2 separate regions of the Homo sapiens genome follow, and region 2 is linked to region 1. Evidence: promoter capture Hi-C in human tissues and cell types (Jung and others, 2019). All regions are on one chromosome and are shown on one strand. Each heading gives the region's core, a stretch centred on a gene start or on the middle of the fragment in contact. The rest is flanking DNA. Distances are from core to core; before and after follow the strand shown.

The links. Contacts are between HindIII fragments. The study calls those that stand out against the background at their distance.
Region 2: a fragment that was not itself captured here is called in contact with the fragment with the promoter of ACTL6A in region 1 in 1 of the 25 tissues and cell types used here (lymphoblastoid cells).

Annotation. Positions count from the first base shown.
Region 1 is chr3:179,560,402-179,565,417 of GRCh38, forward strand. It overlaps ACTL6A (actin like 6A), which reads left to right and starts at 2,525. Exons shown (of 14, transcript NM_004301.5): 1 at 2,525-2,716. The coding sequence starts at 2,692. RefSeq lists a silencer at 2,387-2,616. The HindIII fragment of the contact is 12,889 bases long and covers 1-5,016 here.
Region 2 is chr3:178,527,458-178,532,473 of GRCh38, forward strand. The region is part of intron 5 of KCNMB2-AS1 (KCNMB2 antisense RNA 1); the gene reads right to left. Among named protein-coding and RNA genes, the nearest start is that of KCNMB2, 6.5 kb to the right of the region's middle. The HindIII fragment of the contact is 4,238 bases long and covers 1-4,035 here.

The DNA.
Region 1 (5,016 bases), core at 1,275-3,774:
GACTAGATAGGTATTTTACTTCTAGGATATATTATCTTCAAACATGAGAGATGTTGGAGATAGTATTGAAGAGAGATATCAATGTTCAGCGATATCAAAATCTAGTTAATTTGCTGTATATAAATTATTTGGCATTTAAATGCTACATTGATTTAAATGGATAACTGTGTATTATAAACTCACAAATAGCATCTCTTCAATATTTAATTATTAGAAAACATCTCAATATTTTATACTCTTCAGCTACTAGTCAAAGACATCATAAAAACATAGATTGGAAGAAGAAATATTTTGGGGATTTGATATGCAGCTACAGTGACAGCTATAATAATGGGGACAACAGTTAACATAGGGTACTTATGCACGCTATGCTGGTTATATTACATGTGTTAGCTCAGGTCTGCAAACTCTTCTTGTAAAGGGTCCAGTAATAAATGTATTCTCCAGCTGAGTGGGACACATAGTCTCTGTCTCCCAACTACTCAACTCTACCCTTACAGAGCAAAATAGTCATAAATGAGTAAGTGTGGGCTGTGTCCTAATAAAACTTAGTTTAAGGTCACTGAAGTGTGAATTTCACATAGTTTTCACATCTCTCTCCTTCTTTCTTTTGTTTTCTTTTTTTCTTTTTTTTTTTTTTTTTCAGGGACTTGCTTTGTCACCCAGGCTGGAGTGCAGTGGGGAGATCACGACTCACTGAAGCTTTGAACTCCCAGGCTCAAGCAATCCTCTCACCCTAGCCTCCAGAGTAGCTAGGGGGCATGCACCACCATACCCAGATAATTTTAAAATTTTTTGTAGAGACGGGGGTCTCCCTGTGTTGCCCAGGCTGGTCTTGAACTCCTGGCCTCAAGCGATCCTCCTGCTTGGACCTCCCAAAGTGCTAGGATTACAGCTGTGAGCCACCATGCCCAACCTGTCACATATTATTCTTTAAAATATTTTAAATAATAATTTAAAAACAGAAATAATCATTCTTAGCTCAAGGCCAAAAAAAAAAAAAAAAAAAGGCAGTCTTCCCACCTGCTTCCCCTTTTCCCCACCTCCCCTCCCCACCCCACACACAAAAGACTGGATTTGGCCCTAGTGCCATAGTGTGCTGACACACATCTGCATTATCTCACTGGGTTAATAGGGCTTTTCTAAATGGTCAGATACACTGTGATTATATTGTCAAGTGAATGGGAAAGAGTTTTCCCGCTAGCCTTTTTTCCCACCCTACTGCCTCATCACTTTCTGCCACCCTCTGCCACTGAGACTGATGGGGTTTTAGTCAATCGTTTCTAAGGTTAAAAGTAGGCACTGCATGTCTAGACTCTAGACAAGGATCAATTACAAGGATAGGCAGCAATCTTAAGGGTTTGAGCGCTGGAGTGTCCTGATCGGGTTTGGGCGTTTTCACAGATGAAGCTCCCTTGATCAAGAGTGGCAAAGGGACACAGCAACAAGTTGTTGCAGTAATCTGGGGATAAAGGAAGGTGATCTGGACTAGGCTGGTAGAAATAGGGGACTAAGGCTGTTTTTGGGATGCCTATTTAGGATTGGGTGCTTGCTTGAATGAAGATTGATTAGCTGTTTTAAATACCTCTCACAGGATAAAAGAAATTGATTTTTTTTTTTTTTGAGACAGAGTCTTGCTCTGTCGCCCAGGCTGGAGTGCAGTGGCGCAATCTCGGCTCACTGCAACCTCTGCCTCCCGGGTTCAAGCGACTCTCCTGCCTCAGCCTCCTGCGTAGCTGGGACTACAGGCCCGGCTACTTTTCTCATTTTTAGTAGACACAGGGTTTCACTGTGTTGCCTAGGCTGGTCTCGAACTCCTGACCTTGTGATCTGCCCGCCTCGGCCTACCAAAGTGCTCGGATTACACGCATGAGCCACCACGCCCGGCCTGAAATTTTTTTTTTTTTTTAAAGAAATGAGTAAGTTTTTTAATAGTTTTTAAAGCGCTACCTAGGTTTAGCTGGGATACCGCATAATTTCATTCTTCTTTTACTTATTAATAACCATTTTAAAAACTGCAAGATCCTATCAATTTGTCTGATTTACTGATTCCCCTATCCCAAAGTGGAGCGCAAAATTTTTACTTTTTCAACATAAAAGTTAGTTTAAAATACTTTTTCTGAAGAAAAAAAGAAAGAAATCCGCATTCCCCACAGTCACTGGACAGGAATCTCGGCGTGGAGACACCCGTTCAATTTCCAGGGGTCTACCTTCCCCTACCCGGGTTCCCGCCGCTCCTCAGCGCCCAGACGCACCTCCTAGTCCCGCCCCCATGCTTCTTCCAGCCTTCCTCCTTCTTCTCCCACTGCCTCCGCCCATTCCCTCGCCCACCCGGGAAGCTCCGCCCCCTCCAGCTCCGCAACCCAACTCCTTCTGTCCTGCTGTCGCTTTCCTCTTTCCCGCCCCCATGGCTGCCTTCGATTGGCTAAACCTGCTGGGCCGCGGCGGGGATGCGGCGCAGCCGCATTCTGATTGGCTAGACTTAGGCCTGGACCCTAGTGATTGGCTGATAGGAGGAGCCAGCAAGTGTGGCTGAGCTCCGGGGTGTGTGGACGCCGCTTTGTTGCCTGAGGTGGGTGGCGGTGGAAGTTAAGGGAGTCAGGGGCTATCGCTCCTCGAGACTCGCAGTCGCGGCCACTGCAGTCACTTCGCCAGTTAGCCCTTAGGGTAGGAGTCGCGCCGGCAGCAGCCATGAGCGGCGGCGTGTACGGGGGAGGTGAGTGAGTGCGGCCGGACGAGAGAGCGCGCCTTTTCGGCGTGTGGGGTTTGTAACCGCCGCTCCCAGCCCTCCCCTCCCCGGCGTTCCCTTCCGGTCTCCCCCTCTCGGGACCCCGGCCTCCCCGCCCCGTCCCCGCCCCACGCTCTGCCCGCCCCCGGAGCCCACCCGGCTCGCCGTGCTCCTCGGGCTCCCTGAAGTGGCGGCTCTCTGTGGCCTCTTCCTGCCTCTGTCCCCGGAGGAGCAGGGTTTTGGGGTGCGCGCTCGGTTCTCTAGGGAGCCTCGGGGCTGGGCGGGAGGCTCAGTCTAGCCGGCCGCCGGGCCCCGGCTTGGGTGACCGCCCCAGGGTCGCATCTCCCCGAGTGCCTCCTGGACTCAGCTGTGTCGGGACGCGTGTGCGCCCGCCTAAACTTGGAAGGTCCCGGCGGTTTGCAAGCGTGGACGGAGGGTTCCCAGAGTGTCCCATAGGTGGCAAAGCGAGCCTCAAGCCGTAGAACTGACTAGGGAAGCGGCGGCCACTTAGGGTACTGCCTCCTCCCCGTCTGCGCCCCATGCGCGAGCTGCCTCACCTTTCAGTAACTCTTGCCTGTTTTTTGGCTGCGGAGTCTCCAGAGTGACTCGTGGGCGGGTCTGTTTGAGATCAATTCAGGAGCACGTGTAATTTAAGGATGCCCAGAAAGTTTGCTGGGGGTCCTAGGCGTGTTATTTTTTCACTTTCTTTGATTAGACTGTGGTGTGGTAGGAAGATTACCAGGTGCCGGGGGTTACAGACCTGGGTTGAAATATCCACCTCACTCTTTATTAAGCGCTTTGGTCTTGGGCAGTTTATGTAACTTTCCAACTTCAGGCCTCATTTATGGAATAATTCCTAGCCGATGGGGGTGGGCATGAAGGTTAAATGAAATAATGCTGCATTTGCCACTTAAAGTCTGGCCCATGGACCAGCAGTGTCAGCATCACCTGCAAGCCTGTTAGAAATGCAGGATCTCACGCGTCATTCAGAATCTACTGATTTAGAGCCTCCATTTTTGCAAGATCTGCAGGTTAATCGAAACACTGATACATATAATTCATGTGTTGGGTTGTGTTTGATGAGTTAGAGACCCAGAAAACAAATCCAGACTATTGCTGTTGTTACTGTGTCTAGTAGTGATGCTGTTTCTATAAAGGATGTCATTTTACAGGTAGGAAACAACAAAAATAAGATTTTTCCTTCATGTTCCCCAAGAAAATCACATCACCCCTAAACTTGGAAGGAGAAAAACATTAAAATCCTCAAAAAAGACAAAAGCCTTTTTAGTAGAGTAGAGGTTCAATTCTTGAGGATTTTTATAGACTAGAAATTGCATCCTAGGTTTTAAACATCCAGAACTCTGTGGTTCTATTAAGCCTCCTGCCTCCCATGGCCACTCTCCTACTTTGGGTTCATGGGGCTTGATTTTTAATGAAGCAGGGTACAGGAATTAGATGTATCTCCCATCCTGGAAAAGGAACAGATGTAAAATTCTGAGAATTTAGAGTCTTAAATTAAAATTCCACCATATCCAGTTTACTAAACTAATTAGGACAGGAAAATGAGCTGATATGTTGGATTTTTTCTATTTCACAAAAATGTTTTTTGAGTACTTGCTATGTGGCAGGTATAGGCTCTTGTCATCAAGAAGCTCAGTCTTGTAGATGAGTCTGTTAGGTAAATAGACACCGTATTTCACTGATTCTTCGTTGTACATTTTTTCCCACATTTAAACAGCTGAAGTTGGAATATGTCTTTTTTTTTTTTTTTTTTAATAGAGATGGGTCTTGAACTCCTGAGCTCAGGCGGTCTTCCCACCTCAGCCTCCCAAAGTGCTAGGATTACAGGTTTGAGCCACTGCCCCCAGTCAGAATATGTCTTAACAGTGCTGGCGTGGCAGAGTTTAATTGCCATATTATTTTGTTAGTGATGCAGGAAATAGTGGTGCATCATGTAGTTGATAGCATCTTATATTGATCAGAAATGGTAACTGTAATTCAATGAGAGATGTTCATTGATAACAATATGTAGAAGGGGCCGGGTGCGGTGTAATCCCAACACCTTGGGAGGCCGAGGCGGGCGGATCACTTGAGGCCAGGAGTTCAAGACCAGCTTGGCCAACATGACAAAACCCTGTCTCTACTAAAAATACAAAAATTAGCCAGGCGTGGTGGTGCATGCCTGGAGTCCCAGCTGCTGGGGAGGCCGAGGCACAAGAATCGCTCGAACCTGGAACTGCACTCCAGCCTGGGTGACAGAGCGAGACTCTATCCTAAAAAAAACAAAA
Region 2 (5,016 bases), core at 667-3,166, 1.0 Mb before region 1:
AAATAAACATTTGGGTACATTCTACACTTTTTGACAAGTCTGGATGCTTCTCATTATGTGTTTTCCAGACATAGTTGGGTCATGCTATCAACCTTGTTGCTATCAAGCACTTTGTAGAGAGCTTTAAGGATGTCAGTTTTGACACGTGTCTATAATTTCAGGTTATTCTTAATTTCCTTCATTATCTTGCATATTTCCTGATATTTCAAGCTCATTTTAAGAGTTACTGTTTTTAACTAGCCAGAGAGCTATCACAGTTGAAAATATAACTTTAGAATTAGCATACTTAAGACATAAATTAGGTATGGCCCTAGAATCATGCACACACACACACAATTTAAGTTACTTCACTGGTAGAAATTAAAATAAAACAGGGACTCATTTAAATTAACATTTAATTGAATGCAATTTTAGCAAGATGTTGATCTGATTTGTATGTGGGCAGTTTTCTTATGTGTAACAACCAAAAAAATACTGAATCTTAGGAAATAAACTCTTTCTCCATATAGCAAGCAACATAGGTTTCTTCTAACTTGCCAAGAAATTGTACGCTCCCATCCTTTTGTATTAGCATCACCAGTTCTCACTGAGGACTTGTTTTCTGTTCATTTTGACTTCTATCACAAAAGCTCCCTGAAGACAAAATAGTTCCAGATTCCCAATGACTCCCAGTTCATAAAATTGATCTTTTTTTCTGAGTTTACGTTATTAATGATGTTGAATAACCTGATCTTATGCATCTGTTAAAAACTTTACAGAACACAAAAATTCAAAACTCCTGTCCCTACAGTCTTGGAGCAAATTGATTTTCCAGGAAGACACACCAGATTTACCATGTGGATTTGCTTACATCAGAATCCCCTGGAAGTAGAAATACCCAAGGTTTTAAAGGACACAGTGAGGAAGAGATTTTGCTTTGAACAATAGGAACAACATGAATCTAGGGACCAGACTTTGCAGTAGTTCTTCACTTTCCCTCTTCCCACAATAAGAATGAAAACATTTCTACTTCAAGAAACTGAAATAAAAATGCCAACACTAGTTATTCTTTTCCTTTGCCCCCTTTCTCTCCCCTCTTGTTACATGACAAGTGATTTCCACTTTAGTCCCAAAAGCAAAAAGAAAATGAAATAAACCTGTGTGGAAGACTGGAATAAAGCATTCTTTTCTCACCATGATGACTCTTCTGCCAAAAGTAGAGTCATACTCCACTCATGGGGCTATGAAAATGGTACAACCCTTCAACAGAGCAACTCAGCAAGAACATACCAAGACCCTTTAGAATCCTCGTACATTTCAGCCCAACAATCCACGCATGGAAATCTATCCTAAAGTAATGTAATCAGAGATGTAGACGAAGATTTTGGTACTAAGCCTTCAGCAAAGCCATTTTGCTAATGAAAAAGGAAGATAACCTGTGTGTTAACCAATGAGGGTTGTTGAAAAAAATTACAGAAGATGCATATGACAAAATACTATATGTTTATTAAAAAGATTTAAAGATTTCAAAATAACATGGAAAACATAAGGATAAGGAGAAAATAAATATATAAAACTAGATGCAATAAAATGCTCTTTAATATTATAATAGAAGTTATCTCTGGATTGTGGGATGATAGGAAACTTTTAAAATACTCTTTGTATACTTTTAATTTTTATGTTTTTTCGATACTCCAATTTTTCAATACTGAGTGTGTATCCCTTTCATAATCTGAATTAAACAAGGTTTAGGGATTTTTTGTTTCATTTTTAAGGAATAAAACAGGACATACAATGACACTACCATCCTATCTAACTTACACCCTTTATGAAAGCAACTTTACAAATATACTTCAATATGCAAATGTATGTGTTTATATCCATTTTGCCAATTCCTTTTCTAAGTAAATTATGAAACAAGGAAATATTTATTAAGACTTTTCTAGATGCCTAGAATTTAATAAGCCCTTAAAAATTCTCCACCTAGCAAAGACACAATACATTTATCAGGATTATGCTGTCATTTTGTAAAGTGAACGTTTCACAAAAAATATTCACATTTTGCTAAATAGCATTTTGTTTATTAAGTGGTTCTTCTTTTACTCTAAGAATCTAGCAACATAAAATGAGCTAATAAAATATACACATAAATGTAAATACCAACATACACATAAATCTTTGCCTTTTATAGCTAACCTTAGAGCTCTCTGCATACCAAAGATTTTTGTTTTTGTTCCATTTTGTTTGGAAGACAGATGTCTTTTAATTAACATAATATTGAAAGCAGCAGGTATCATGTCTAATGCTATGTTGTATAGCAACCAGTATCATCTTCCCATTGATTGCACATAGATACACAGAGCCTGGAGTGCCACATTCATATAGTCCATATTTCCAATAAGCAGGAAGACTGCAGCTAGGTCCTGGGAAGTAGGAGATTCCAAATGAAATAAAACCTCAGCAACTGTCAATGCTCTATTTTATGTTTTATTTTAAAACTGATTTATGTTCAGTACTCTGACAGGCTTCAGAAGGATGGTAATGAAGCCCCAATAAGCTTCTGCCAAATGCAATGCCTCAGCCAAAGAACTATTGCTTCTGAAAGTGGTTAAACTAGCTTATTCCAGTGCTTTCTCATGGGATCCAAGAGTGGGCTCTGCAGCATCTCTATCTGTGTTTGGTGGGGAATCAGGGAGGTGTTGGAGAGGATGTTACTATTCTGAAAATTTAGATAAAATTAATTAATATGTATATTATATTATTATGTACCTCCTTCTCCCATTTGACCACATGCACACAGAATGGTAATAACTCTATATAAAACCTGCAGGTAAGGCTAACTGCCACAAGGTTGGTGGTGGGGGTTAGGACCTATAGGACTTGCTCTCCTAATTGTGATAAAGAGAGACGGGAAAGCAATCAAATAATCCAAGAACATGACCCAAATCGTGGTCGTACTGGGTGGGTTTTTGCTTGTAACCCACCGGTCAGGAAGTCCTGGGCAGCTGCAATTATTACAGAATTATTCAATATTGAGTCTGTAATTAGAATTATTATGAATTTCTATAGTTCACCTTTTAAAAATATTTAGCAACTCTATCTTAAAAACATAAGTTGCAATAAAACAAAATGTTTCTTAAAAAGCCATGAGTATTTGTCACATAGAAGGAGAAAATATATATATATATATATATATATATATATTCCAGCAATCTCTTATTTTATGCTTTTTTCTGTAGTTTATTTTAAAAACTTTATTTTTTAGAGCAGTTTTAGGTTCACAGCAAAGTTGAGAGGAAGACACAGAGGTTTCTCATATACCCCCTCACTGTATTCCTTGCCCCACATATGAAGAGATTTCCCCGTTATCCACATCTCCCACCAGAGTGGTACATTGATTAAAATTGGTGAACCTATATTTAATTTTTAAATTGATGAAACTATATTTAGATTCATCATAATTACCCAAAGTCCATAGTCTACATTAAGGTTCACTCTTGGTGATGTACATTCTATGGGTTTGGACAAATGTATTATGACATGATCCGTCACTACAGTATTATACAGACTATTTCCACTGCCCTAAAAATTTTCTGTGCTTCACCCACTTATCCCTCCCCTGACCTCCCATCTCCTGGGAACCAATGATCTTTTTACTGTCTCCATTGTTTTCACTTTTCCAGAACATCAGGTTGCTGGAATCAGTAGGTAGACTTCTCAGATTGGCTTCTTTCACTTAGTAATGCTCATTTGACTATCCTCCATGTCTTTTCATGGCTTGAGAGCTCTTCTTTTTCAGTGCTGAATAATATTCCATTGTCTGGGTGTACCACAGTTTATTTTTTTCAGCTACTGAAGGACATCTTGGTTTCTTCCAAAGTTTGGCAATTATGAATAAAGCTGCTATAAACATTTGTGTGCAGGTTTTTGTGTAGACATAAGTTTTCAGCTCTTTTGGATAAATACCAAAGAGCCTGTTTGCTGGATCATATGGTAAGAGTATGCTTTGCTTATTGTCTTCCAAAGTGGCTGCACCATTTTGCATTTCCACCAGCAATGAATGATAGTTCCTGTTGCTCTTGCATCCTGTTGCTCTCCAGAATTTGGTGTTGTCACTGTTCTAGATTTTGGCTCTTCTAATAGGTGCATAGTGGTAGTGTGTTGTTGTTTTAATTTGCATTTTCCTGATGACATATGATGTGGAGCATCTTTTCATATGCTTATTCGCCATCCATATATCTTCCTTAGTGAAGTGTCTGTTAAGGTCTTTGGAACATTTTTTAATCAGGTTGTGTGTTTTTCTTATTGCTAGGTCTTAAGTGTTCCTTGTATAGCTTGGATAGCAGTCCTTTATAAAATATGTCTTGTGAATATTTTCTACCAGTGCGTAGCTTCTCTTTGTTGTCTCTCTTATTTTAAAATTTTTTTTAAAAAATCTTCTGCTGCATATATTAGTAGAAGTTTTAACTAAAAAATACAGGACCTAGGTGAAAAGTTTTATGAAATAAAAAGAACACTGGATTATGAGGACATACGCACAGGCTACGTGATTGCAAAAAAAATCATTAAACCTCCCTTATCCTCAATTTGCCTAGATGGAAATGTAACTATTAATATTTGCCTTGCCACCCAATAACTTTATTCTAAAAGTATCAAATGTGATGTGGGCAAATATACTCCAGAAATGTAAACTTTTAGAAATTATGATTTCATGAAAACTTTTTTAGAGAAATTTAAATTTGAAGGACAATTTTTGTGAAAAGTGATATGGACCAATTAAAGCATTTCATTTCTATTTTAGAAATAAGATGCTGGTTTGATGTTAGATTTTCTTCAACTGTTGTCTTTAATTGCTTTCTAAGTTTATGCATTTGAGTTTATACTAGAAAATGCCTTTTGTATGCACCTAATGTGGAACTGTAGATCACTTCAAAGTGAGTCAGCTTCAACATTCACAGAAATATAATAGTAAGGAAGCAGTGTCTAAACTAACTTTCCTGTTGTTCCTGGAAAAATAGTCATAATAGGGCAAAAGCA